6 separate regions of the Homo sapiens genome follow, and all the other regions are linked to region 1. The links are contacts of gene promoters, found by promoter capture Hi-C in blood cells and fetal thymus (Javierre and others, 2016). All regions are on one chromosome and are shown on one strand. Each heading gives the region's core, a stretch centred on a gene start or on the middle of the fragment in contact. The rest is flanking DNA. Distances are from core to core; before and after follow the strand shown. Region 1 holds the start of CCND1 (cyclin D1). Region 2 overlaps LOC338694 (a long non-coding RNA gene). Region 3 overlaps LOC105369366 (a long non-coding RNA gene). Region 4 has its middle 68 kb from the start of MYEOV. Region 5 holds the start of LOC105369368 (a long non-coding RNA gene). Region 6 has its middle 26 kb from the start of MYEOV.

Region 1 (4,118 bases), core at 676-3,175:
TTCATGGCCAGCGGGAAGACCTCCTCCTCGCACTTCTGTTCCTCGCAGACCTACGGAGGCACGGGGCCCGTGACCGCCGCCGCCAGGTCGCGCCGCCCCCCCGCACGCCCCCGCACCCCCCATCGCGCTTGGCAGGGCCGCCAGGTCTGGAGGGCGCCGAGGGGTCGGGGCTGGGGGCGGCAGGAGCTTCCCGTGATGCGCCCCCTCCCCCGCGCGTCCCCAGTACCCACCCTCCCCGAAACTGAAAGGGAAAGTCCCCGCGAGGCTGGCACGGTGGGGGCGGGAGCGGGCACAGCTGGGCGGCGTGCGCGGCGGCGCGGGCTGCCGGCCCCCGGGACCCTGGCCCGCCCTGGAGCTCCGTGGTCCCTCTGACTGGGGGTCGACACCAACTGGGGTGCGGGGCCGCGGAACGGGCCGCGGGGTTGGGCGCCGCGCCTGCGAGACACAAAGGTGGCGTCCCAGGCCGCCGCGCCGCATTTCCCCAGACGTCATCTTTTCAAAAAATATTTAAAAATATTAAAAAAATAACTAAGTGCATAAAAAAACCCTGAAAATGACCCTCGGGCGACCCTTTACCCAGGCCGGGGGTTGGGAGTTCGTTACAGGCTCCGGGGGGAGCCCCAGGAATTCAAACTCCGGGGCCCCCCCTTCCCCCTGGGCGCGGGCGGCGTTTCCCTCTCGCAAGGGCACCACGCCGCACTTTCAAAAATTATTTTAAAATACTTGCGGGCCCCTCAGGCGCCCACCGAAGGTCTGAAAATGTGCTCCCAGGCCCCCGGCTCGCTCGGAGAAGGTCCTCCAAGCCGATATCCCTGCAGACGGGGATCAAGCCCTGGCGTCTTGGGGGCCACGCGACCTTGCAGCTCGCCGTGCTCTCCGGCCCAGGCTGCCCGTTCGGGGCGCCCCGGGACTCGCTGCTTGAACAAAGGCCCCCCCTTCCCTAGCGGCGTCCCCCCAAAACTACCCATGCCGCGTCCCTGCGCCCCTCCCGCGGGCTCCCGGCAGCCGCGCGGCCCTTAGCTGCGGCCCCAGCGCCCGGCGGCCGCTCCCCGCCCCCACCCTGCCCCCAATTATTAATAAACACTTTTGCTTTGCAATAAAAGAGCAAAGATGGCGCATAATACTGGCACGAGCGGCCCTTGCATACGTGTCCATGGATATTAATTTAAAAATCAAATCTATGCCCCCTCCCCCCGGAGTTGGCGGCTCCCGGCCGCTGAGGCGCAGCCGGGCTGGGGCGCAGGCGGGGGACACAAAGCGCACCCAGCCTGCCAGCCCGCACCCTCGGGCCCATTGGGGTGCCCCTGGCACTGGCTTCTCCCGAAGGCACCCCTCCCGGACCCCCTTCTCCCCTCCCACGAAACGCTACTTCTAGCACCCCCACCCCCACCCCTTCCTCCTTCAGAAAATACCCGCAATTTTTATTTTGAAAATACGGATCCCTAGAAACACCACGGCAAACTTCAAAGTTCTAGCGGGAGAGAAGGGAGGGGGGTGAGTAGCAAAGAAACGTGGGTCTGGGCAACAAGTTGCAGGGAAGTCTTAAGAGAGCCGCCCGAAGCCCCGCACCTCCAGCATCCAGGTGGCGACGATCTTCCGCATGGACGGCAGGACCTCCTTCTGCACACATTTGAAGTAGGACACCGAGGGCGCGCAGGTCTCCTCCGCCTTCAGCATGGCCCGCAGCACCCGGTCGTTGAGGAGGTTGGCATCGGGGTACGCGCGGCGGATGGTTTCCACTTCGCAGCACAGGAGCTGGTGTTCCATGGCTGGGGCTCTTCCTGGGCAGCTGGGGAGGGCTGTGGGTCCTGGCTGGGTCCGCGCTCGGCTCTCGCTTCTGCTGCCCCGCGCTCCCTCGCGCTCTTCTGCCCCTCGCCGGAGCGTGCGGACTCTGCTGCTCGCTGCTACTGCGCCGACAGCCCTCTGGAGGCTCCAGGACTTTGCAACTTCAACAAAACTCCCCTGTAGTCCGTGTGACGTTACTGTTGTTAAGCAAAGATCAAAGCCCGGCAGAGAATGGGAGCGGGAGGGGGGCGGGGGCGGGCGCAGGGGGAGGGGGCGCGGGCGCCAAACGCCGGGAGCAGCGAGGGGCAGAGCCCAAAAGCCATCCCTGAGGCGCCGCGCCTGCCCTGCGGCGGAGTTGCCCCTGTAGTCCGGTTTTCATAGAAATGCAAATCGCCCCGCTGCAGCCTTTCTCCCCGCCAGGGAAGAGGGGTGCAGGGGGCCCCGTCCGCCTCGAGTGGGTCCCCCGGGATTTAGGGGGTGAGGTGGAGGTGGCTCTGCAGTAGGGGACAACTAGGAAGGCCGGCAGGCCACACGCAGCCTGGGGAGACCACGAGAAGGGGTGACTGGGGCGCGGCGACACCCCATATCCAAGCCGGCAGAATGGGCGCATTTCCAAGAACGCCACGAGGGCACCCACGGGCGGACAGACGGCCAAAGAATCTCAGCGACTGCATCTTCTTTCATTTTCATTAACACGTGTAAATTGCAAGAACTAATTTAGCATGCAAGGACGGGGAGGACCGGGCACACAACCCCTGTGCAAGTTTCATTCCGGCGCACAGGGGCGTCGTTGCAAATGCCCAAGGGGGTAACCCTAAAAGTTAAAGGGATTTCAGCTTAGCATGCGCTCGCTCAAAAAATAAAATAAAATAAATGCCCGAAAATTCCAGCAGCAGCCCAAGATGGTGGCCAGCATTTCCTTCATCTTGTCCTTCTAGCCTGGAGACTCTTCGGGCTGCCTTCCTACCTTGACCAGTCGGTCCTTGCGGGGGTCCCCAACTGCACCCCCTCCCTTCCCGTGCCGGCAATTTAACCGGGAGAAACACACCTCTGAATGGAAAGCTGAGAAACAGTGATCTCCATTCTGACTCATTTTTTTTAATTAAAAAAGAAATTAAATTGCTGGAAATATTAGTCCCCTCTGCCTGGGACAAGACCACCGAAGGTTCCTAATTGGTTTTGTTGGGGGTGTAGACGTCCCTTCACCTTTAGAATTTGCCCTGGGACTGAATTCGTGAGCGTGAGGGGGCTGGCAGGAGCCGGCATAATTCAGAACAATTATCAATTAAACAAACGAGTGTACTGATCTGATTTTTAGCAAAATCGATAGGTGTTCGTGGTTACATGAGAGGGTCCCCAATATTATCGCAAACTTAAGCAGATGTAAATTAAAATACACAGTTTTTAAAATTACAGGTTCTGTCTCTTTGGTGCATTAAAAAATAAAAGGACATTTTACTGTCTTAACTTTTGTTTTTATTTTTACAGTACCTGCCCCAAATTAAGAAAACTGTTCATTTACTTCCTTTTGAATATAGTTCAGTGTCATCAAACCACCGTACCCTCTTAACAGTAAAAGCTCAAAGAAAACTGATAGAAAAAGCCCTCTCCCCTTCGCCAGGGTGCTCACAGCAAGATGCGACCCCCCCCACCCCCACCTTTCAGGGTGAATTCCTCCCGCGCCCCCTCCCCCGCCGGGAATTAGGATTACTAATATTCCGGGTCCTGGGGGGGTAATTACCCCCGGATTCCGCATGGGGAGCGATGGGTTGCCCCAGCAGGGAGCACCTACGGTCGTGCCCCCCCCCACTCCCCGAGCACCCACAATCGCGTTGGCCCCCGCATAGCCAAGCCTCAGAGCATCAGCCCGCGCACAAGGGCGGCCCAGCTGCTTTTTCATTCATAAAATCCCGACCCGGCGGCCGCCTGGATGATTTATGGGGCCCGGAGCTATCACCCGGCCTCTCCCATCCCGTGGGGCGAGGGGCCCCGAGCCCCGCGTGCGCCCTGGCCCAGCCCGAGGCGCGAAGCGGGCCGAAGTCGGCTAGGGGCAGCAGGGCATAAAGAGGCTCGCCCACTCCGGCACAACCGGCTCTGGGTCCAGGAGGGAGCTTCACCCCCCCATCCCGGGCGCAAGACAGAGGAAACTGGAATTAGCATGAGCCAATGGGGGCGCGGCGCTGTTACTAGGCGGACCGGGCAGATCTCGACTAGGAACTTCGTTGATTTCCCGGCTCAGGGACGAGCGCAAAATTGCAAGCCCGGTTAGCGAGCGTAAAGAGCCGTCCAGGAACCCGCGGGGGAGGCGCTGGAATTTGGGGCCCGGCGCTGGA
Region 2 (4,118 bases), core at 451-2,950, 500 kb after region 1:
TGACTGATCCCCCGTGTGTGACCAGACATCAGCACATTCAGAGGACCTCATACTGAGAATTGGTGGACCTTTCAGAATGGACATGACCACTCAAAGTAGGGACATTACTCGCTATTTGATGGCCCATGTGGGATCAAAGGCCACTGGGGTTCCCTCAAGGCACAGCACACTTAGAATCCCATAAGTCCTCAGTTCTAAGGCATGTATTTTTCATACTTTGATAATTCTGAAATCAAGTATAGCTTCTAGTAGATATTAAAACTCATTTTCAGATCCTGCAGAAAGGAGGAGACAGAAATAAAGTTGCCATTCCCTGCTTTTGTATGAACCCAGCTGAGCATAAACCGTAATCTATTCAACCTCTACCGGGTGTTTGCCTTGCGTCCCCACACGTGGTTGACTCATAACCTAAGTTTGAATCCCTAATTTTCACTTTAAATAACTTCAGCTACTCGGGATGCTGAGGCAGGGGAATCGTCTGAACCCAGGAGGTGGAGGTTGCAATGAGCCGAGACTGCGCCACTGCATTCCACCCTGGGTGACACAGCAAGACTCTGTCTCGGGAAATAAAATTAAATTAAATTAAATCAAATCTTCAAAAATATTGCAGTACAATGCAGCACTGAAACAAGAAGCTGTTGTGTATGTGAGATTTCCTGTCCCACATTGGGCAATGCAACTGAAGGCAATAGAAACCAGGACATTGCTCAGAATATGCCATAAAGCTCCACCATGCTAAGAGTTTAAAAAAAAGAAAAGAAAAGAAAGAAAGAAAAACAGAAAACCAAAAATAAAAGAAGAAAAATAAAGCTCCACCGTGCAGCTGGAGATGTTAGCATGAATAACCTCTAGATGAACATAATCTATCAAAAGGTTTTTGCTGTCAGAAGAAACAACAGAAAGTAGAATCAGACCCAGACCTGTCAAAATTATCAGAATATAATATAAAATAAGCATGATTAAAGGATTAAGAGAAAATATTTAAAACATAAAGAACAAGAGATTATAAAATGACCAAGCAGATTTGGAAAGACCTAAATGTAATTCCAGAGATGAAAATATATTAAGTGATACTAACAGATGGTCAGACATGGCTGAAAATTATGTTGGTGAACGGAAAGACAGATCTGAGCTATGGCCCAGAATACAGCACAGAGAGACAATGGGAGACAAGAAGGAGCTGCCAAGAGGCATGAGGGGTGGAGTAAAAGCTACACTGTATGGTCCTAGGAGCTCCAGTAGAAGAGAATAGAATAGGGCAAAGGCTAGATCTGAAGGGGAAATGGCTGAGAAGTTTTTAGAACAGATGAAAAACATCAATCCCCAGATTTGGGCATCCCAAAGAATCCAACCTAGGATGAGTGATAAGCAATCCATAGCTGGGGACATCATAGTGACACCATACAATACCAAGAGGTGTTTTTAAATGTACCTGGGATTTTGTTTTAATCAGGTACATTAACATGACAGACATGGAGACAGCTGCCTTAAAAGAAGTTTATTACTTACAGTTCCCAGGAGCAGGGGGCATGCCATGCTATGCAGTCTACATGAGGAAGGACGAGGGTTGGTCAGGAGGCAGAGGGAGCAGGGGAACACAAGGGGAGACTTTACTATCACTACTATTACTATTGACATAGTAATAATAGTAATAAAGTACCATAGTAGTCAAGACTCTCCCCTTGGTGGTGGAAAGTTAAGTGAGGGTGTCTCCTATGGGGCAGAAGGCAAAACACAGATGTTGGGGGTTGTGGCCAGAGGGTTTGTGATATGATTTTTGTGCACCCATGAAAACACAAGGATAGTAAGGATAGAAACAAGCCTGGCTATAGTTTGGCTCATGATTTCAAGATACCAAATTACAGGACATCAAGAATGATTATTACAGTGGAGTGTAGCTTAGAAGCAGCCAGAGAGGCAAGGTTGGCCCACAGCTGACTTCTCAACAGCAATGGATGAGCGGAAGACAGTGGAATGACATTTTTAAGGTGCTAGAGTGAAGTGACTACCTAGAATTGTATACTCAACCAAAAATGTTTAAATAAAGACACATGCTAGAGGTTTCTCTTGGGAACATACCTACGAGTATATACGCTTAGCTGAAGGGAATATGCATCTGGCTTCATGGACGCTTCCAACAATAGCTTAGTTGGGGTTCCTTCCAGTTGCTTCTGTGAAATTAAAGAATTCAGACTTAAAGCTGTTGGAACTGTATTCAGAGCCTTGAGAGGAACATGGCTATGCAACTTGAGTCACATGGAATGCAACTGCAACTTCTACCTTTTTTTTTCCCTATAAATAATTAAGAAGACCAAACGACTTCAGAGATAAGAATCCCTTGAATTTCTACCCCTCCTCATGGAGTAATAAAGTATTTTCCTTGGAATGCAGCAATCTGTAACCGATCAAGTCACTGTACGCACTGATCGTGTATGAAAAATGTTGTAATCCTGCTGAAATTTCTCTGTCTCTGCCTATGTAAGAGAAATCTTAACTTCTCCACTTTGAAACAGTGACCCCATTTGTTTGGAGTCAGTGTTGCCCAAGTGGCTATCCTCATGCTTTGGGCTCAAAGAATCTCTACATTTAATCATAGTTTCTGAATCTCACTGTTTAAGGTTGACACTTCTCATCCTCACCAACACGGGCTTTTGAGTGCTTGCCAAGCTGGTGGGTGAGACATAGTGTCTCGGTATAGTTCGGGGTTGCATTTTCATATTGACTTTTCTTATGCTGATTGCCTTTGGGGTTTCTTCTCTTGTGAAGTACCAGTTGAGTCTTTGGTTGTTTCTTTTTCTTAGGAATTTGTAGGCATTCTTCATTGTATTAACCATTACTTCTTTTTCCTGTATTCTGATGCTTTGACATCTGGGAACGTGCTGACCCTGGAGGGATGGCCCCTCCCAGGATTAGCCAATTTCTAGAAATGAAGTCATCTGTGAGTGCACCTTTCAAATGTAAACCAACTAACTAATCCAGAGCTCACATTTGCAACGACCTCTTCTATCAGGTTCTCATACTCAGGGCTACCATCCTCCTGCCATAATCACCCCAGGGCCAGGTACCAGACAGGCAGGGACAGTCCCTGTGCCCCAGAGCCTGTAACATTATTCAAACTAGCCCATCCTATGCCTACTTGCCCTGCCTCACTCGTTTTTTCCTACAGAAACCACAATCAAGGCTCTTGCCCACACTTTCCCCTTAGTCCCTATCCCTCCAGACCAACTCCCCTGCTTCCCTGTGCCCCCCATCCACCCCGGGGTGCAGCATGTCCCCTCCCCTGCAGATCTGTGAGTAACAAACTATCTTTTCAATAATGGTTATCTCCTGATCTGTTGGCCTCATCATATCTGAATAATAATAAAACCTATAGCAGCCGGGCGTGGTGGCTCACACCTGTAATCCCAGCACTTTGGGAGGCCAAGGTGGGTGGATCACGGGGTCAAGAGATCGAGACCATCATGGCCAACATGGTGAAACCCCGTCTCTACTAAAAATACAAAAATTAGCTGGGCGTGGTGGTGCACGCCTTTAATCTCAGCCACTTGGCAGGCTGAGTCAGGAGAATCACTTGAACCCGGGAGGCAGAGATTGCAGTGAGCTGAGATCATGGCACTGCACTCCAGCCTGGTGACAGAGCGAGACTCCATCTCAAAAAAACAACAGCAACAACAAAAAAAATTTTTCTTCATACAAATTATTTGTCAGTTCTAAGCATTGCAGTATCTTCTCCCAGTTTGTAGTTTGTCTTTTCATGCTTCTTATGGTGTTTTTTGTTGGTTGGTTGGTTGGTTGGTTTTTGAAACAGTCTCGCTCTGTCGCCCAGGCTGGAGTGCAGTGGCACAATCTTGGCTCACTGCAACCTCCACCTCCCAGGTTCAAGCAATTCACCTGCCTCAGCCTCCCGAGTACCTGGGATTACAGGCATGTGCCACCATGCCCAGCTAATTTTTGTATTTTTAGTAGAGATGAGGTTTCGCTGTGTTGGCCAGGCTGGTCTCAAACTCCACACCTCAAGTGAGCCGCCCGCCTAACCTCCCCAAAGTGCTGGGATTACAGGCGTGAGCCACCGTGCCTGGCCCTTACCATGTTTTTTGATGAACATAAACTCTAAATTG
Region 3 (4,118 bases), core at 942-3,441, 470 kb after region 1:
ATCATCCTACAACGAAGGGTATGGTGGCCAAGCTCCATTCTTAAACTTCCAGTGAGCTCTTTGGTCTCCAAACCTGTCATAACCTGACAGCCAAGGGTTACCAGACTTCTGTGAACAGCCTCCAACATGAAAAGCAGAGACAAAAACATCAACAGAAACACATAACTGGGTGGAAACAGACTTTTCAGAAAAAAAAAAAAAAAAAACACTTTTTTTTTGTTTCTTTTTTTTTTTAGACAGAGTTACTCTGTCACCCAGGCTAGAGTACAGTGGCGCGATCTTGGCTCACTGCAACCTCCGCCTCCTGGGTTCAAGCGATTCTCCTGCCTCAGCCTCTCAAGTAGCTGGGATTACAGGCACCCGCCACCACAACCGGCTAATTTTTGTATTTTTAGTAAAGACGGGGTTTCACCATATTGATCAGGCTGGTCTTGAACTCCTGACCTTGTGATCCACCCGCCTCAGCCTCCCAAAGTGCTGGGATTACAGGCGTGAGCCACTGCACCCGGCCAAAAAAAAAAAAGAAGAGAGGGAAAGGGGATTAGAAAGAGATAGAGAAGAAAAGAGAGAGGGGGCAAGAGGGAGGAAGGAAAAGAGGAGAGGATGGATGGCAAGAATGAGGAGGAGAAATAAGGACAATGGTTGTGGTGGCTCACGCCTGTAATCCCAACACTTTGGGAGGCCGAGGTGGGTGGATCACTTGATGTCAGAAGTTCCAGACCAGCCTGGCCAACATGACAAAACCCCATCTCCACTTAAAAATATAAAAATTAACCAGATATGAGGTGGCGCACACCTGTAATCCCAGCTATTTGGGAGGCTGAGGCATGAGAATCACTTGAACCCGGGAGGTGGAGGTTGCAGTGAGCTGAGATTGCACCACTGCACCCCAGCCCAGGTAACAGGGTGAGACTCTGTCTCAAAAAAATAAAAAAAGAGAAAATCTAGAAAATAAGTACAGAAGATCCAACATCCAAATAACAGGAATAACAGGAGCTATAGATGTATACGAGAGAGGAAATTGCAGGGAAGAAATGATCAATGAAATAATTCAGGGTAATTCCCTGGCACTAAAAAAAAGGCCCGCAAAATACCCAGCATAGGAGGTGAACATAGACCTACCCCATGGACACATCATTGTGGAACTTTAGTACACTTGGGACAAAGAGAAGATTCTACAAACTTCCAGAGAGAAAAATCACATGACATACCCAGGGCTGGTTATCAAAACAGCTTCAGAATTCTCAGCAGCCCCACTGGAAGCAAGAAAACAATGGAGCAATGCTTTTGAGCTTCTGAAGGGAAATTATTTCCTAACCCAACCTTCTATGCCAGCCACATTATTAAGCAAGTGTGAAGGTGGAATACAGATCCCTTCAGCTGGCGAGGTCTCTAACAAATTTGCCTACGAGCCACACTTTCTCAGAAAGCTACTGAAGGATGTGCTACACCCAACTGAGAAGGTAAACCAAGAAAGAGAAGACTCGACATACAGGAAGCAGCAGGTGAAGGCAGTCCCCCAGAAGATCACTGATGGCCGTGACGCACTCCACATAGAACGCTGCCGTTACAGATGACAGCCATGTGACAAGATTTCTGCTGCCACTGTGCCCCCTTTTGACCTGAGGACAGAGTATGGGGTGAGGATCTTATCTTCGCTTGGCTTATGTTGACCAGGGGCTGGCAAAGTTCCTGCTCTTTCTCCTGCTGGGCTGCCTCCACCAGTTGAGAACTTTGATCTATTCTTGAGAGCAGGAATTGGCCACGGTGAGCTTAGAAGCAGATGATGCAAAGCAACCTGCTCTCTTTAGCCATCCTTCTGCCATGATCCCAGAGGTCAGCCTCATCAGATAGCCCAGCTATCGTGAGACCTCAGTTTCCCAGGGCTCACTCATGCCTTTGCCCATTGACAGTCTGACCTTCAATTCTCTCAGAGAGGGGCAGAGCCTGGCTTGCTGCCCTGAGTTTGCCAGAACTCAGCTGGCCTTTGTGTTTTATATTTTTTTGGGAGCTTTCAACTCTTGGTGACAACATTGCCATTTCCTTACACAATTTGTTTTGTGCTTCCTTCAATTTTTTAGAACTAAACAATGTGTTGTAAGCTTGTAGATGCTGGCCAGATGATCACCAAACCTGTTCCTCCCCCATTCCTGGGCACTCAGCTGGACTGCATTTCCCAGCCTCCCTTGCAGGTAGGTACAGGTACATGTCTGTGTTCCATCCAGTAGAATGTGATGGAAGTGATGTTTACTACCTCCAGGCCTGCCGAAAAAAGCTTCCTACACAATCCAGTCTGCTCCTTCTCTCTGTTTGCTCCTCTGCCGATCCAATGCAGTGCACCAAATGGAGGACTCCATGGCTGTAGGGGATGGCAGAGCCATTCAGAAAAAAAGGCCTGGGTCCCTGCATGGCTGCATGGAGCAGAGCCCAACCCAACCTGCCCTGCACTGTCATGAACAAGAGATACACATGTATTGAATTAGGGTGCTACAATTAGTGGGTTGCTTGTTAAAACAGTTAATATACCCTGATTAATAAAGGATATTTACATAGGTGGTAAAACTCTAAAGGAAAATATAGGCCATTCGTTTTAGGAGCCAGTTTCCTGATACAGAGGAGATAGGTACTTGGGAAATGTCTTTGCTGAACAAATGAATGCACAAACACAATTGCTCTTTGACTGTGGCTTCAAAGTCATGTCCGCACAAGCGTGTGGCCCGGAGGGGAACGGGAAAAATGTAGACAGTTGATTTGTCAGGGTACTGGGAATGTGGGTGAAATTTTTCCTGTTATTCTTAGGATAAGGTTATTTTGCAATAAATACGTAGAGAATGTGGAGTCAGGCTCTCCCGCATTCTGTGTGGCATGCGTAAAAACATCTAGGCACACAGCGCTCCAAACAGATGTTTCTTTGCAAGCAAGAGCTCATTTCTCCTGAAAGCAGTCAGGATCCAGCAACCAGGCATCCCCCTCCTCCAGCAGCCCAGCTCTCCAAACCCACCCTCCCCAGTCCCACCCTACACAAGGTCCTCAGCCCTGCCCCCAGATGGAAGCCCCCCACCTTCCACCACCACAACACATTCTGCAGCCTCAAGGCTGAGTTCAGTGTCACCAGGGCAGAATTCCCCACCCATCCTATGTCCCCACAGGTCTTTGACCCTCTGTAGTGGGCATCTGCCTATTCAGCCTGGCAGTGCCCAGAAGACAGCTTGCCTAGGGGTGAAGGGATGAGGGCCCCCCAGTCAGATCAACCAGGTCTGCACCCCAGATGCCCATTGACCAGCTCAAGGGTGGGAGCAAGTTGCTTTGCCTCTCTGAAGCCCAGGGATGATGACAGCCCCTTCCTGAAGGATGTCTGTGAAGAGCAGATGAAGGGATGCATGGAATGTTCTTAGAAAGGCCCCCAGGCCCATATGGATCGCTCAATAAGCCTTGGCCCCAGGACTGTCCTCAGAAGTAGAGAATGCATCTGTGTCTGGCTCTTACAATGACCTGTTAACCCCTCAAGAGTGATGCCCACATTCTCCTCCCTGGTAACTGGCCTGGAGCCCAGCGCTCAATGAGCTGCACATGGAACAGAACCGAGAGCTCAACTAGCTGCAGAGAAGCTGAGTTAAGCCTGTGTCTGTTGATGGCCACTTGGCCACTGGATTCAAGGCAGGATGTGCTGGCACCTTGGGACTGCCCTCACCATCAGTCCTGCCTTGCCCAGAGGGCTGGGCCAGGAGAAGCCGGCCAGTGCAGGGGCCAGCCAGAAAGCATGTCCTGGGGAATGGCTGAAGAAACTAAGGATATGTACCCAAAGAAGAGAAGACCTGGGAGAAGATTCTATCTACCCAGAAATGGTGGTTGAGCACCTACTGTGTTCCAGGTACTGTTCTCAAATGAGCAAGACAGAGAGCAAGACAGACAGATGGCCTGCCCTTGTGGGCTTGCATTCTAGACAATAAATAAAAACAGAACCAGACAATCCAATTAATAAAAAATAGAACCAGACAATATAATAAATAAAAAATAGAACTAGATAATCCAATTAAAAATAGAACCAGACAATCCAATAAATAGATACATAAAGCAACATCAGCTGGTACTAAGTTCTATAATGAAAAATAAAGGCA
Region 4 (4,118 bases), core at 485-2,984, 410 kb after region 1:
ATCCTCATCATCATTATTCCATGTTGAAGAGGATAATCCCCATCATGGTTCCCTTCCCCTCTGAACCCATTCAGAACCCAGAGTCTCTGCACGGTTATCTCAGCCAAAATCCCTGCCCTCAGAGAGCTGACGTCCCATCTGGGAGGAGACACAGAACAAATAAATAAATATGGAATATGTCAATGCTGAGAAGAACAGAGTCTGTGGTCCCTAGTGCACCCTGCTGCCTCTGACAGGGATGGGAAAGAGTGGACTCATAATAATTAATTTTATTTGTCAACTTAACTGGGCCACAGGGTGCCCAGATATTTGGTCATACATTCTGGGTATGTCTGTGAGGGTGTTGCTGGATGAGATGAACATTAAAATCCATAGACTGAGTAAAGCAGATTGCCCTCCCTAATGTAGGTCAGCCTCATCTAGTATACTATACACACACACACACACACACACACACACACACACACATACATATATATATATTTCTGTATATGTACACATCTTATTGGTTCTGTTTCTCTGGAGAGCCCTAATACAGATCTGCCCATTGATGGTGCTGCTATTCTCCCAGGGGGTTAGAGAACTTTCCTCACTTTGCCCCTGACCCCCATGGTCATCCTCTGTCTCTGTGTGTTGAGAGGACTGCAGTGAGATGATCTGGTGTCTACTCCAGCTCTGCAACCAGGATGACCATAGGAACCACATTAAAGTCCAATCATACCACAAGTGAAAACAGGTGCCATCATGGCCCCATTTTCCCAGCCCCATGCCACAGTCATGACTGGTCCCTAAACAACCCCTGCGGATCACTGCTACATTCCCCTGATGAGTCTTTCAGCCTCTGCCCTGGCCTTTTCAATGAACCCACACCACTTCTCCCAAGGATTCCATGGCCATGTTCTTCCTCTACTGTCAGCCCTGGTGGCCTCCTGTCACCCACAAGGTGAAGTCCAAGCTATGTGACAGGGTCAACTACATGATGTGGTCCAAGGATCCATCCCTGCCAAGGTTCAGCCTCATCTCTTGACATTCCCCTTCTTAAATTTTCAGCTCCTGTAAAGTTAAACTGCTAATAGTACCCCATGGGTGCCAGAATATTTCTTGACTCCTCATCTTTCAGCTATGGTTTGTTCCCTGTGGCCCAGGGTGCCCTTCTATTGCCACACTCTTCTCTTAGACAACTCCTGCCCATCCTTCCACATTCTGCTTATCAACTTCAGGGCAACTTCCCTGATCCTGTACACCACTCCAGATTAGTTTGGGGGCCCCTTCTGTCTCTGTAATGCAATGATGAGTCTCCATTGCACTTACTTCATTTTCAATATTATCTTAATAGGCATTAATCCAAAGAGGTTCTTGGTTCCAAGCCCTGGATCCTGGCCCATAGTTGACACTAGCAATGAAGCAATGAGTCTAGAGCTGACCCTCACCTACACAGTCTTCTGATTTAAGACATAAGGACAACTGTAATCAAGGGAAAGGAAGGGTGATCTTTTCAGTAAATAATGCTGGGGAGACCAGAGAGCCAATGGGGGAAAATGAACTCCTACCTCTAATTTATACCATGCACCAAAATTAATTTTACCTCCACCTATCAATAATGAGGCAGCAGACCCCCTTCTCTTGCCAAAGCAATGTCAAAAGAAAAACAATCCAGATGAACCACAGGATCTAAATAATACAGAAACATCCCAGTTTCAACTGGAAATCACACATCATACCAAGAATCATGAAGATCTCAAGCTGCATGAAAAACAACAATCAATAGGTGCCAACACCAAGATGACAGAGATGTTAGAGTTACCTGAAAATAATTAAAGTAGCCATGACAGAATGCTTCCAGGATCAATTATGAATACACTTGAAGCAAATAAAAAATAGAAAGCCTTTGCAATGAAATAGAAGATAAGAAGAACCAAATGGAAAATTTTAGAACTGAAAAATACAGTATGAGAAATGAAAAATTCACTGACACCTTGAACAGAAGAATGGAAAGGACAGAGGAAAGAGTGAAGTGGGAGACAGAATAACAGAAATTACTGAATCTGAACAACACAGAGAAAAGAGACTGAAATAAAAAATAACAGAGCCTCAGGGACACAACAAAAGGAACCAAGAGTCAAGAAACACAACAAAAAATCTAATATTTAAGTTTCTGGAGTTCCAGAAGGAAAGGAGAAAGAGCATGATAGTGAAAAAATGCTTACAGAAATAATGGCTGGAAACTTCCTAAATTTGTGAAGAGACACAAACTTACAGATTCAAGAAGCTGAACAAACCGTAAATAGGATAAACCAAAGAAATCCACACCAAGACACATACTAATTAAACTTCTGAAAACTAAAGACAGAAAAAAGTCTTCAAAGCACCAAAGAAAAACTGAGAAAACTGAAAGGAAAAATAGACAAGTACAGAATTAGAGTTAGAAATTTCAACACTTTTCTCTCTACAATTGATAGAACTAGACAGAAAATCAACAAGAATACTAAAACACTCAACACTGTCAACTCCCAGGATCTAATCAATATTTACAACACATTCCCCTCAATAACAGAAAAATATGCATTCTTTTCAAGTGCTCATGTAAAATAGATAGACCATATCCTGGGCCATAAAGCAATCTAAAAAACTTTAAAAAATATAAATCATACAGGGTATGTTCTCCAAACACAATGAAATCAAACTAGAAATCAGTAACAGAAAGATAACAGGAAAATCTCTGAACACTTGGAAACTAAACAACACACTTCTAAATTATCTTTGGATCAAAGAGGAAGTTTCAAGGAAGACAGAAAAATACATTGAACTTAATGAAAATGAAAATACAACACACTAGTGTTTGTGTGACACAGCTAAAACAATGCTGAGAGGAAAAATTATACTACAAAATACCTATGATCAAAAAGAAGGAAAAGCCTCAAAACCATAGTCTAAGTTCCCACCTCAAGAAACTAGAGAAAGAAGAGAAAAATCAACCCAAAGAAAGCAGAAGAAAGAAATAATAGAGAACAGCAGACATGAATAAAATTGAAAAAAAATAAAATCAATGAAAAAAGAGCTGTCTCTTTGAAGAGAACAATAAAATGGACACACTTCTAGCAAGACTGATAACGAAAAAAAGGAGGAGAAGATGCAAATTGCCAACATGAAGAATGAAACCGGGAATATCATTACAGACCCTGCAGACATCAAAAAGATAAAATAGAATACTATGAGCCACTCTACACACATAAATTTGACAACTTAGATAAATCAACTTCTTAACCACAACTCACCCAATATGAAATAGATAATTTGCATAGCCTTATAACTATTAAGGAAATTAAAGACATCATTTCAGAAATCTCCAAGCCTGGATGATTTTACTGGACAATTGTACCAATTCTTTGCAGAATAATTAACATGAATTCAAAAGCCATACATATGAGAAAGGAGAAATAAAATAGATAACATGATTATCGCTGTGGAAAATCCCAATGAATCTACATAAACAATACCTCCCAGAAACTAATAAGTTAGTTCAGCAAGGTGACAGACAAGATAAATATACAAAACTGATTGTATTTCTATGTATTAGTAGTAAACATGTGAACATAAAAATTAAAAATACAATGCTATTGAAATCACTCAAAAATTAAATAACTAGATGTAAATTTTTTTGATATACAGAACTTGCATGCTGAAAACTACACAACCACTATGAAAGACATCAAAGAAAATCTAAATAAATGAAGAGACATACCATGTTCATAGATTAGAAGACCCAACATAGTAAAGATGACAATCCTCCCTAAATCAGTGTTTAGGTATGGTTGATATACAGCAATTCCTGTCAAAGTTTCAGTAAGATTTTTTTGTAGATATACACAAGATTATTCTAAAATGTATATAGAAAAGAAAAGGTTTTAGAATAGCTAAAACAATTTTGAAAAATAAGAATAAAGTGAGAGCATTTAGTCTACTTGATTTTAAGCTTAATATATAGGCTTATATAATCAAATAATAATACAATAATCAAAAGTTCATGGTATTGGCAGACAAATAAACATACAGAACAATGGAACAGTACAGAGAACCCAGAAATAGATTCACAAGAATACACCCCACTAATTTTTAAC
Region 5 (4,118 bases), core at 579-3,078, 390 kb after region 1:
CTTGAGGGGACCCAGAGGAGGAAGGAGCTGGTGCTCCTTTCCCCATAGAGTGGGGAGAAGCTCCCCCTAGGTCTGCCAAAGGCATCTCGGCACACAGGAAGAAATGAGGAATCAGGGGTCAGACACCTGAGTGTTGGGACTTTTTTTTAATTACATGCCTTTTTGAAAAATTGGACTTTGTATTGTAAGCTAGGATCTGTGATACAGAAGGAACTATCAGGATGGGGAATCCAGAATGTTGAGTGAAACCCCACCATGGTCCACCTTGACCTTCTGTCTCCTCATCAGTAAAATGAATGGGTTGCATTCCTCTTAGTGCTAACTCTACTGGTCTAAGACTTTGATAGAAAGGAATTCTCCAGCCTGTCCCTGTACCTTGTGATAGTGTTGACTGCAACCTTCAGAACAGAACATCTCCACTACCTTGCTTAAAATAGAAAAAGAAGCCATTTCTTTAGGTTTTATACATGGAACTCTGACTTCTTCCTTGGATGTTTCGTGTGTTGGAAGCCACTCCCTTCCCACTCTCACCTAAAGACCTCACAAGCTTAAGAAAACAATAAAAAAGCAAATAAATAAATAACTAATAGCAATTGATTGTGTTCAATTCCAGAAGGTCAAGAAATAGAAGAATCTAGTAAATTACAAGTAATAAACAAACACAGCAACATGCCTGGCACTGCACAACATGAAAGGTACACAGTGTTGAATTAAGACACAATCTTGGCCGGGCATGGTGGCTCACGCCTGTAATCCCAACACTTGAGAGGCCAGAGGATCACCTGAGGTCAGGAGTTTGAGACCAGCCTGGCCAACATGGTGAAACCCCTTCTCTACTAAAAATACAAAAATTAGCCAGGCGTGGTGGCGCATGCCTGTAATCCCAGCTACTCGGGAGGCTGAGGCAGGAGAATCCCTTGAACCCAGGAGGAGGAGGTTGCAGTGAGTCAAGATTGCACCACTGCACTCCAGCCTGGCAGCAGAGCTAGACTCCGTCTCGGGAAAAAAAAAGAAGAAGAAGAAGAAGACATACCATATCTCTTTCTCTCTCTTTCTCTCTTTCTCTCTTTCTCTCTTCCCACCATGTGAAGACACAGCAGAAAGACACCCATCTCCAAGCCAGGAAGAGAGGACTCACAAGAACCCAACCCTGGCCAGGCTCAGATGTCAGGAGTTCGAGACCAGCCTGGCCAACATAGCAAAACCCCATCTCTACTAAAAATACACACACACACACAAAATTAGCCAGGCATGGTGGCAGGCACCTGTAATCCCAGCTACCTAGGAGGCTGAGGCAGGACAATCACTTGAACCCAGGAGGCAGAGGTTGCAGTGAGTCAAGATCTCACCACGGCACTCCAGCCTGGGTGACAGAGCAAGACTGTCTCAAAAAAAAAAAAAAGAGAGAGAGAGAAAATAGAAACCAACCCTAATCACACATTGATCTTGGACTTTTAGCCTCCAGAACGAGCAAAAATAAATGTCTGTTGTTTAAAGCCCCTGGTCTATGGTCTTCTTTGTAGCAGCCCCAACAGACTAATATTAAGTGGTTTCTAGGAGTTGAGGGTGGGAATGAGGCACCCTCAGGGGTGATGGAAACATTCTGTATCTTGACTGTGCAGGTAATTAAACAACTGTGTGTGTTTGTCAGAACTCACAGAAGTATACACTCAAAAGCATTAACTTGACAGGATATAAATTATACCTCAATAAAGTAGCAAAAAACTACACATTACTTACAGGGAGACAAAGATAAGAATGATGAAGACATCTCATCAGAAACAATACAAGCCAGAAGAAACCAGTGTGCGGCGGGAGCTGCGCGGCAGAAAAAAGACCCGCCACCTGTTGGGCTGGGGTGTAGGGAAGCGTCACGGAGCAGGTGCCCTTGAGCTCAGACTCCAAGGGGGAGAACAGGCAAGGTAGCCAGAAAGAGCATTTTAGGAAGAGGGAGGCAGTAGCCTGGACCTCAGCTCACAGCTTGGAGGGGAGGGGAAGTTCAGCCTGCAAGGTGGGCTCAGGCTGGAAACACAAGCTGGGACTAGACACAGAAGAGCCTCCAACTCCAGGCCGCAGACGTTGAATTTTACTCTGGAAGTCGCTGAGGTACAGCAACATGGACAAGAGGCAGCAGCAACATTTTCCCCTTGCCATGCAGATGCCAAGCATATGTAGTGGCATTCTGCTGGCCCTAACCCAGCTTGGCACCTAATTTTAGCCCCCAAACTGTTAGATGTTGCAAAGCATCCATTCTGGGGCTGCCGTGGGCCAATGTCAGAGAGCTGGGAGCATAGGAACCGTTGAGATAAGCTCCCAGGCCAGGAACAAGCACTTCACCTTCTCCAGCCACATCACGAGGCCCTCCCTGGCCTGCCTGGCCCCCACCTCCTGACCTCATCAGCTCTCGGTTGCACTCACTCTGCTGCAGCCACACTGATCCCCTTGCTGCTCCTCCAACACACCAAGCAAACTCCTGCCTCAGGGCCTTTGCACACACTGTGGCTGCCGTAGCCAGGAGCACTCCTCCCCAGGTACCAACAGGGCTCACTCTCAGACATTTCTCAGGGATCTATTCAAATGCCCCTTGTCAGTACAGCACGCCCTGACACCATGACTCAGACAGCCCCCACACCCACCCCCAGACACCCCCAGCCCCTCATCCTAGTTAATCTCTCTTCCTAGCACTCACTTCTTTGTTTCTCCAGGACAGTGGGCCCTGAGTGAATATCTACTGAATGAGTAGGGGACACCTTCTGGAAACTCCTTTCACCCAAACTCTGGCTCTGATGGAAACTACTCGTGGCAGCCAGATGGGTGTCAAGGTGGGTGGTGCAGAGGAGGAAAGTCCAGGGATTGGGGATGAGATCCAAGAGGAGTCACAGCCTGCAGGGCTGGAAGCTGCAGTTGCCCAGTGTAGGAGATCCTCCCTCCTGGGTCACAGCTGTAAAATGAGGATGCCAGAGACTCTTGCCCTACAGCCCAGAGGGCCCATCAGATTGTAACTCATCCTGTGTCTGCTCAGTAACATGTAAAAAGTCTGTATTAGTCTGTTTTCACATTACTATAAAGAACTTCCCGAGACTGGGTAATTTATGAAGAAAAAAGCTTAATTGACTCATAGTTCTGCATGGTTGGGGAGGCCTCAGGAAACTTACAATCATGGCAGAAGGTGAAGGGGAGGCAAAGACCTTCTTCACATGGCAGCAGGAAAGAGAGAGCTAGCAAGAGCAGGGAAGACTGCCTTATAAAACCATCAGAGCTCATGAGAACGCACTCACTATCACAAGAACGGCATGGGGGAAACTGCCTTCACGATCCAATCACCTCCCACCTGGTCCCTCCCTCGACACATGGGGATTATAATTCCAGATGAAAGTTGGGTGGGGACACAGAGCCAAATCATATCAAAGTCCGTACTGCATAGCAGGTCCTATACATGGTACTGGGGTTACACCGTGAGCAAGACAGACATATTTACTGCCCTGTCTACACTAACACTTCACCCCAAGCACATAGTCCAGTAGTGGGGACATATAGTCAGCTGGACCATCACAATATTGACTAATAACAGGTGCAGTGCAGGGCAAGTTCAGGGCTTGGGGATCCTATAAAGGCAGGCAGCCCGGCCTGATACAGGGAGGTGGTCAAGGATAGCTTCCTGGAGTGAACGACCCCCTGTACAGAGTGACCTTCATTAAACAAAAGCTTATCATGCATCAGCTTGCCATGGCTCCACAGGGCCCAGAGGCTGAGGGGTGAGGTCCCCAACTCAGCAGGGAAGGCCCTCCCAAGCTACATCCCTTCCACCTCACCCCCATGGGGACTGCACCAGGGCATCGCCAGGTTTCCCTCCATGCCCCATGTATCAGTTATTCATTGCTGTGTAACAAATTCCCCCATCATGGAGGGTTAAACAATAGACATTTGCTACTCTCACAGTTTCTGTGGATCACAGGGCTGGGCTAGGCAGTGCTGGCTGAGGGTCTCTCATGAAGATACAAGCAGATGTCAGCTGGAGGGGTAGTCCTCTGGAGGTTTGACCAGGCCAGAGGATCTGCTTCCAAAGCAGCTCCCTCATGGCTAGTGAGTGCTGGCTGCTGGTAGGAATCCTCAGTTCC
Region 6 (4,118 bases), core at 1,136-3,635, 370 kb after region 1:
AGCCAGGGCCAGAGCATTCCCACGCTGGACAGCCACTGTGGAGGGGCCCAGGCCGCAGGGTTCCCCCAGCCCCAGGCCTGCAGCTCCAGCTCCCCTGGAGGCCCTGTGTGCTCCCATTCCACACTCGGACTCAGCAAACCAAGCCCACCCAGGGCTCCTCACACCACCTCGAGTCACAGAGCCCACAGAGCTGTTTCCCAGGCTCGTGTGGGTGTGGGAGGGAGCACCAGGCCCACCAGAGGTTGGGAGGGCCTCCAAGGGCCACTCTTCTGGAAGTTTCTGGGGTCACATGAAGGCTGAGACAGTATAGCTGGGGCCTGGAGGCGAGCTGGAAGGAAAGGCCTACACCCCCACACCTCCACTCAGCCCTATCGGTGACCAGGACAGGTGGTCCCTCTTGGGGGCCTGAAATTCCCACACTCCTTGAGGGTTGTCTGAGGCCCCAGTTTTCAGACTCAGTCTTTTCCACCTGGCCAAGAAATGAAAAGTGCAGACATTTTAAAGGAAAGGGAAAGGGCTCAGAGAGGTTAAGTGACTTGCCCAAGGTCACACAGCAAGGAAGTGGAAGAGCTGGGCTTCAAACCCAGAACTGTGCTTTGCATGCAGCAGGTGCTGAATGAATGCATGAAGATTACAACGTCCATAATCTCAGCCATCGAGACCACATGCTGCCTCTGACTGGCTGGCAGCCAGCAGGGCCCAGCTCCAGGAGTGGGGAGCTCACCACTCACTCTGGACCCCTGGCTACTGTAACCTTGCTCATTATAGGTCTGGGTTCTGCCTGAAACTCACAGAGATGAATCAGGTTCCCTTCCCAGGAGCAGCCTTCAGGGCTCCAAGGCACATTCGGAGCTCAACTCCAAAGCTCCTTGACCCCATCCCTTCCCACATCCCTTTGCACGCCGCCTACACCCCAACTCTGACCCACTGGACCTCTCTCTCCCCTGCCGGCCCCCCGTGCTGAGCCCCGTCCAGGCCACTATGGCTCCCGACTGGCCTGGGCCCTCTCAGCCTCTGGTGTGCCCCCGGTCACTCCCTGCTCTGAGGTTGGGCATCTAGAAGGCCACTCTGTGCCCAGGCCTCTCATTTCCTGGCCTCCTCTGTACATGAGAAGCAGTGGTGTGGCTACTGTTGCTAGGCCCAGAGGGCCTCCCTGGGCCACCTTCCTTTACTCTCTTCCTAGGCAGGACGAGGGGACCCCCATGGCCCCAGCCTCCCAGGACCATCAGCCTGAAGAATCTCCCTCTGCGGTCTCAGGGAAGCTGGGTGGGACCCCAAGCCTAAGGCCAGGATAGAGCCCAACACTCTGGGAGGCCCAGCCATTTTCCTTCCCACCACACAGGCAGAAAGAGGCCCCCACCCCAGGGAACAGATGCCCATCAATGCCTCATAGCAGGGAGATTTCTCAGCACGCCTCCCCTGTGAAGCTCCCCAGGCATGTGGCAGAAGGGGAACGTGGAAGCTGCATTTGAGGTGGACGTCACACACCCATCTGCCAAACAAAACCCATTCGCGAGCTCGAGGGCCAGAAAACCAAGCTCATTCACCACAGGTGCCCGCTTAGTGCAGAGAGAGCGTGGCAAGCTTGATCGTCACTTTCCAAAGTGTATTCCAGTTCCACTGGATGTTAACAGGATCAAGGGAGTTTGGGGACCACAGGATGAAGCAAAGTCTTTAGAGAACTTGCTGGGGCTTTTATTCTGTCTCTCTGAGAGGAGAGAGCAAGCTGGGTTTCTCAAACTGATTTAACCTCCTAAGTTCTATTTCTGGACTGTCTTATGGGACCAGCATTCCCTGGAATCCTTTTTGAGAAACACAGCCCATGCTGTTTCTGCCGCCCTGAAGTGCTTGGCTCCTGTGCTCTGGCCCAGCACTGATGTGGCTGGGGAGGATGCTTAGAGAGCTCCAGGGACCAGGCCTGGGCCCACATTCAGTGACGGATAAAGGTGCCTTCCTTGCCTGGTGGGCACAGCCTCTCTGGGGTTATATGGCACCAAAGCCCACAATGCCACCAGCAAAGATGTATGAGGGCCAAACACAGCCCCTCCTGGGGTTCTGGAGACAGGGTGCAGTCCCCACAGACTAGCAGAGCCTACAGCTTGCAACCTGGAGGGGAAGTTCCCGAGGTACCCAAAAAGCTCATGCAGGTGGCTCTATCCCTGGAATAGGAATAAAGACCAGTCTGTTCCCACCCCCTCCGATCTCTGCCATTTCCACCAGCCAAGAGCCTCCAATGCCCTGGTGTCCCAGAATCTGGGAAGTCTGGCCCCAAACAGCCTGTGAGTGGCTACCTCGGGCCCGTGGGTGTAACGGGCACCGAGGCTGGCTCTCTGTTGCCCCATTCCCCAGGCTCCACAGACTCCCTGGCTGCTGGCTGGGCTGCCTGGGCCCCTCCTCTGGGGCCTGCCTCCTGACCCTGAATAGCTTTTCACATTTCCCCAGAAGCGCCTTTGATCCGGCGGGGATCTTTTCCATTGATTCAGCATCTAATCTGGTTTCCCATCTGATTGCAACGGTCCCTCCACGCCTCCTTCCGCTCAGTGTTTTCCTAATCCTCGGCCCTGCTTACTTATCGCTTGCTCCTGAGCACTGGCCAACTCCTTCTCTTCCCCTTGACATTCCTGCCCCATCTTCCTCCCTCTCTCCCTCCGTCCCTCTGCGGCTGGCCATGGCCTTGCCTGAGCCAGGCAACCTTGAGTCTGGGGTGCCTTCCTGGAGTACACATCAGTCAGCCTTTCCTTCCTCCCCTCATTTAACCCAGCGGTTCCCAACCTTTTTGGCACCAGGGACCAGTTTCACGGAAGACAATTCTTCCCTGGACCAGGGGTTGGGGGGATGGTTTCAGGATGATTCAAGTGCATTACATTTATCATGCACTTTATTTCCATTATTATTACATTATATAATGAAATAATTCTACAACTCACCATCATGTAGAATCAGTGGGAGCCCTGAGCTTATTTTCCTGTAACCAGATGGTCCCATCTTAGGGTGATGGGAGACACTGACAGATCATCAGGCATTAGATTCTCATAAGGAGCGTGCAACCTAGATCCCTCACATACGCAGTTCACAGTAAGGTTTGCACTCCTATGAGTGTCTAATGCTGCCGCTGATCTGACAGGAGGTGGAGCTCAGGCCGTCATGTGAGTGATGGGGAGTGGCTGTAAATACAGATGAAGCTTGGCTCCCTCACCCACCATTCATCTCCAGTTCCTAACAGGCCACGGACCAGTTAGGGACCCTTGGTCTAACCAACGTTGATTAAATGCTTTCTCTGCACCAGGTGCAGGGGCCCCCACATCTGCAGCCTTTTGCAAAAACAGTGCTTCTCTCTAGAGGCAGAGACTGAACTCTGGAGGCAGAGACTGAACAAAGAAATGTGCAGGGGGCTGACACACAGCCCACCAGGGTGATCACAAAGCCCTCTTGCACACCACCCTGGAGATGGATGAAGTTGTACCCACTGCGTAGATGGGAAAATTGGGGCTAGAGTTATTTTCAATTGCCCCCGCCACACAGCTGTGAGTGTCAGAGCAGGAACATCTGACTTTCTGACTAGTTCACAGCAGGGCTGTTCTAGTTGTCATTCAAGGTCTCTGGCATTTCATTGCCAATGTCCACATTGACCAGCTACAGGGTCCCAGGGAAGCCATGCTCAATAGAATGTGGCCCAGGCTCTGACATTGTCCTGGCTTGAAAAGTTCGTGCCCCAACCCTGCCCAGGCACACACACCCTGTTCACCTGCGATGGGCACCCCAGGCAGCACCTCCACGAGAAACAGAGGCCAGAGCCCCCTTTATCTCCTCCTCCCTAACAAGACTGCCCAGGCAACTGACCTTGAGGCCCACATGGAGGCAAACAGTCCTGGCAATTATCTTCCAGGGGCGTGGGCAATTAATTGAAAATCTGAGGCTGGCAAACTTCCATGCCCGCCTGGTGGAGAAGGCAGCCCCCTCCCTCCTCCCTCACATGAGGTCGGGAAGACGAGGGGATGGCCAGACTTGGGCTCCTGAGCAAGCAGCAGCTGTGTGGGCAGGACCTGAGGGGCTCAGTGCAAAGTGAAAATGCAGGACGCCTTGTTCAAAGTTATTAAAGAGCATCTAGATGGTGACGG

What was found. Contacts are between HindIII fragments. The CHiCAGO score rates a contact against its expected background, and 5 or more counts as called.
Region 2: a contact is called between a fragment that was not itself captured here and the fragment with the promoter of CCND1 in region 1, in 2 of 17 cell types (M1 macrophages and activated CD4 T cells). The highest score is 5.8, in M1 macrophages.
Region 3: a contact is called between a fragment that was not itself captured here and the fragment with the promoter of CCND1 in region 1, in 5 of 17 cell types (M1 macrophages, megakaryocytes, activated CD4 T cells and 2 more). The highest score is 7.3, in M1 macrophages.
Region 4: a fragment that was not itself captured here is called in contact with the fragment with the promoter of CCND1 in region 1 in 3 of 17 cell types (M0 macrophages, M1 macrophages and M2 macrophages); the score reaches 6.7 in M0 macrophages.
Region 5: a contact is called between a fragment that was not itself captured here and the fragment with the promoter of CCND1 in region 1, in 2 of 17 cell types (M1 macrophages and M2 macrophages). The highest score is 7.9, in M1 macrophages.
Region 6: a fragment that was not itself captured here is called in contact with the fragment with the promoter of CCND1 in region 1 in 4 of 17 cell types (endothelial precursors, M0 macrophages, M1 macrophages and 1 more); the score reaches 9.6 in endothelial precursors.

The regions. Positions count from the first base shown.
Region 1 is chr11:69,638,963-69,643,080 of GRCh38, reverse strand. CCND1 (cyclin D1) reads right to left here and starts at 1,925. Exons shown (of 5, transcript NM_053056.3): 1 at 1,570-1,925; 2 at 1-50. The coding sequence starts at 1,767. RefSeq lists silencers at 40-99, 190-329 and enhancers at 952-1,654, 3,162-4,100, 4,101-4,118. The HindIII fragment of the contact is 14,749 bases long and covers 1-4,118 here.
Region 2 is chr11:69,143,473-69,147,590 of GRCh38, reverse strand. It overlaps LOC338694 (a long non-coding RNA gene), which reads left to right. Exons shown (of 3, transcript NR_104161.1): 3 at 1-363. Among named protein-coding and RNA genes, the nearest start is that of SMIM38, 10 kb to the left of the region's middle. RefSeq lists a silencer at 2,629-2,688. The HindIII fragment of the contact is 5,522 bases long and covers 1-4,118 here.
Region 3 is chr11:69,173,070-69,177,187 of GRCh38, reverse strand. It overlaps LOC105369366 (a long non-coding RNA gene), which reads right to left. Exons shown (of 3, transcript XR_950256.3): 2 at 1,494-1,622. Among named protein-coding and RNA genes, the nearest start is that of SMIM38, 19 kb to the right of the region's middle. The HindIII fragment of the contact is 173 bases long and covers 2,105-2,277 here.
Region 4 is chr11:69,224,126-69,228,243 of GRCh38, reverse strand. No RefSeq gene overlaps it. Among named protein-coding and RNA genes, the nearest start is that of MYEOV, 68 kb to the left of the region's middle. The HindIII fragment of the contact is 4,482 bases long and covers 1-3,975 here.
Region 5 is chr11:69,244,008-69,248,125 of GRCh38, reverse strand. It overlaps LOC105369368 (a long non-coding RNA gene), which reads right to left and starts at 125. Exons shown (of 3, transcript XR_001748070.1): 1 at 1-125. The HindIII fragment of the contact is 2,558 bases long and covers 550-3,107 here.
Region 6 is chr11:69,265,992-69,270,109 of GRCh38, reverse strand. No RefSeq gene overlaps it. Among named protein-coding and RNA genes, the nearest start is that of MYEOV, 26 kb to the left of the region's middle. The HindIII fragment of the contact is 1,598 bases long and covers 1,587-3,184 here.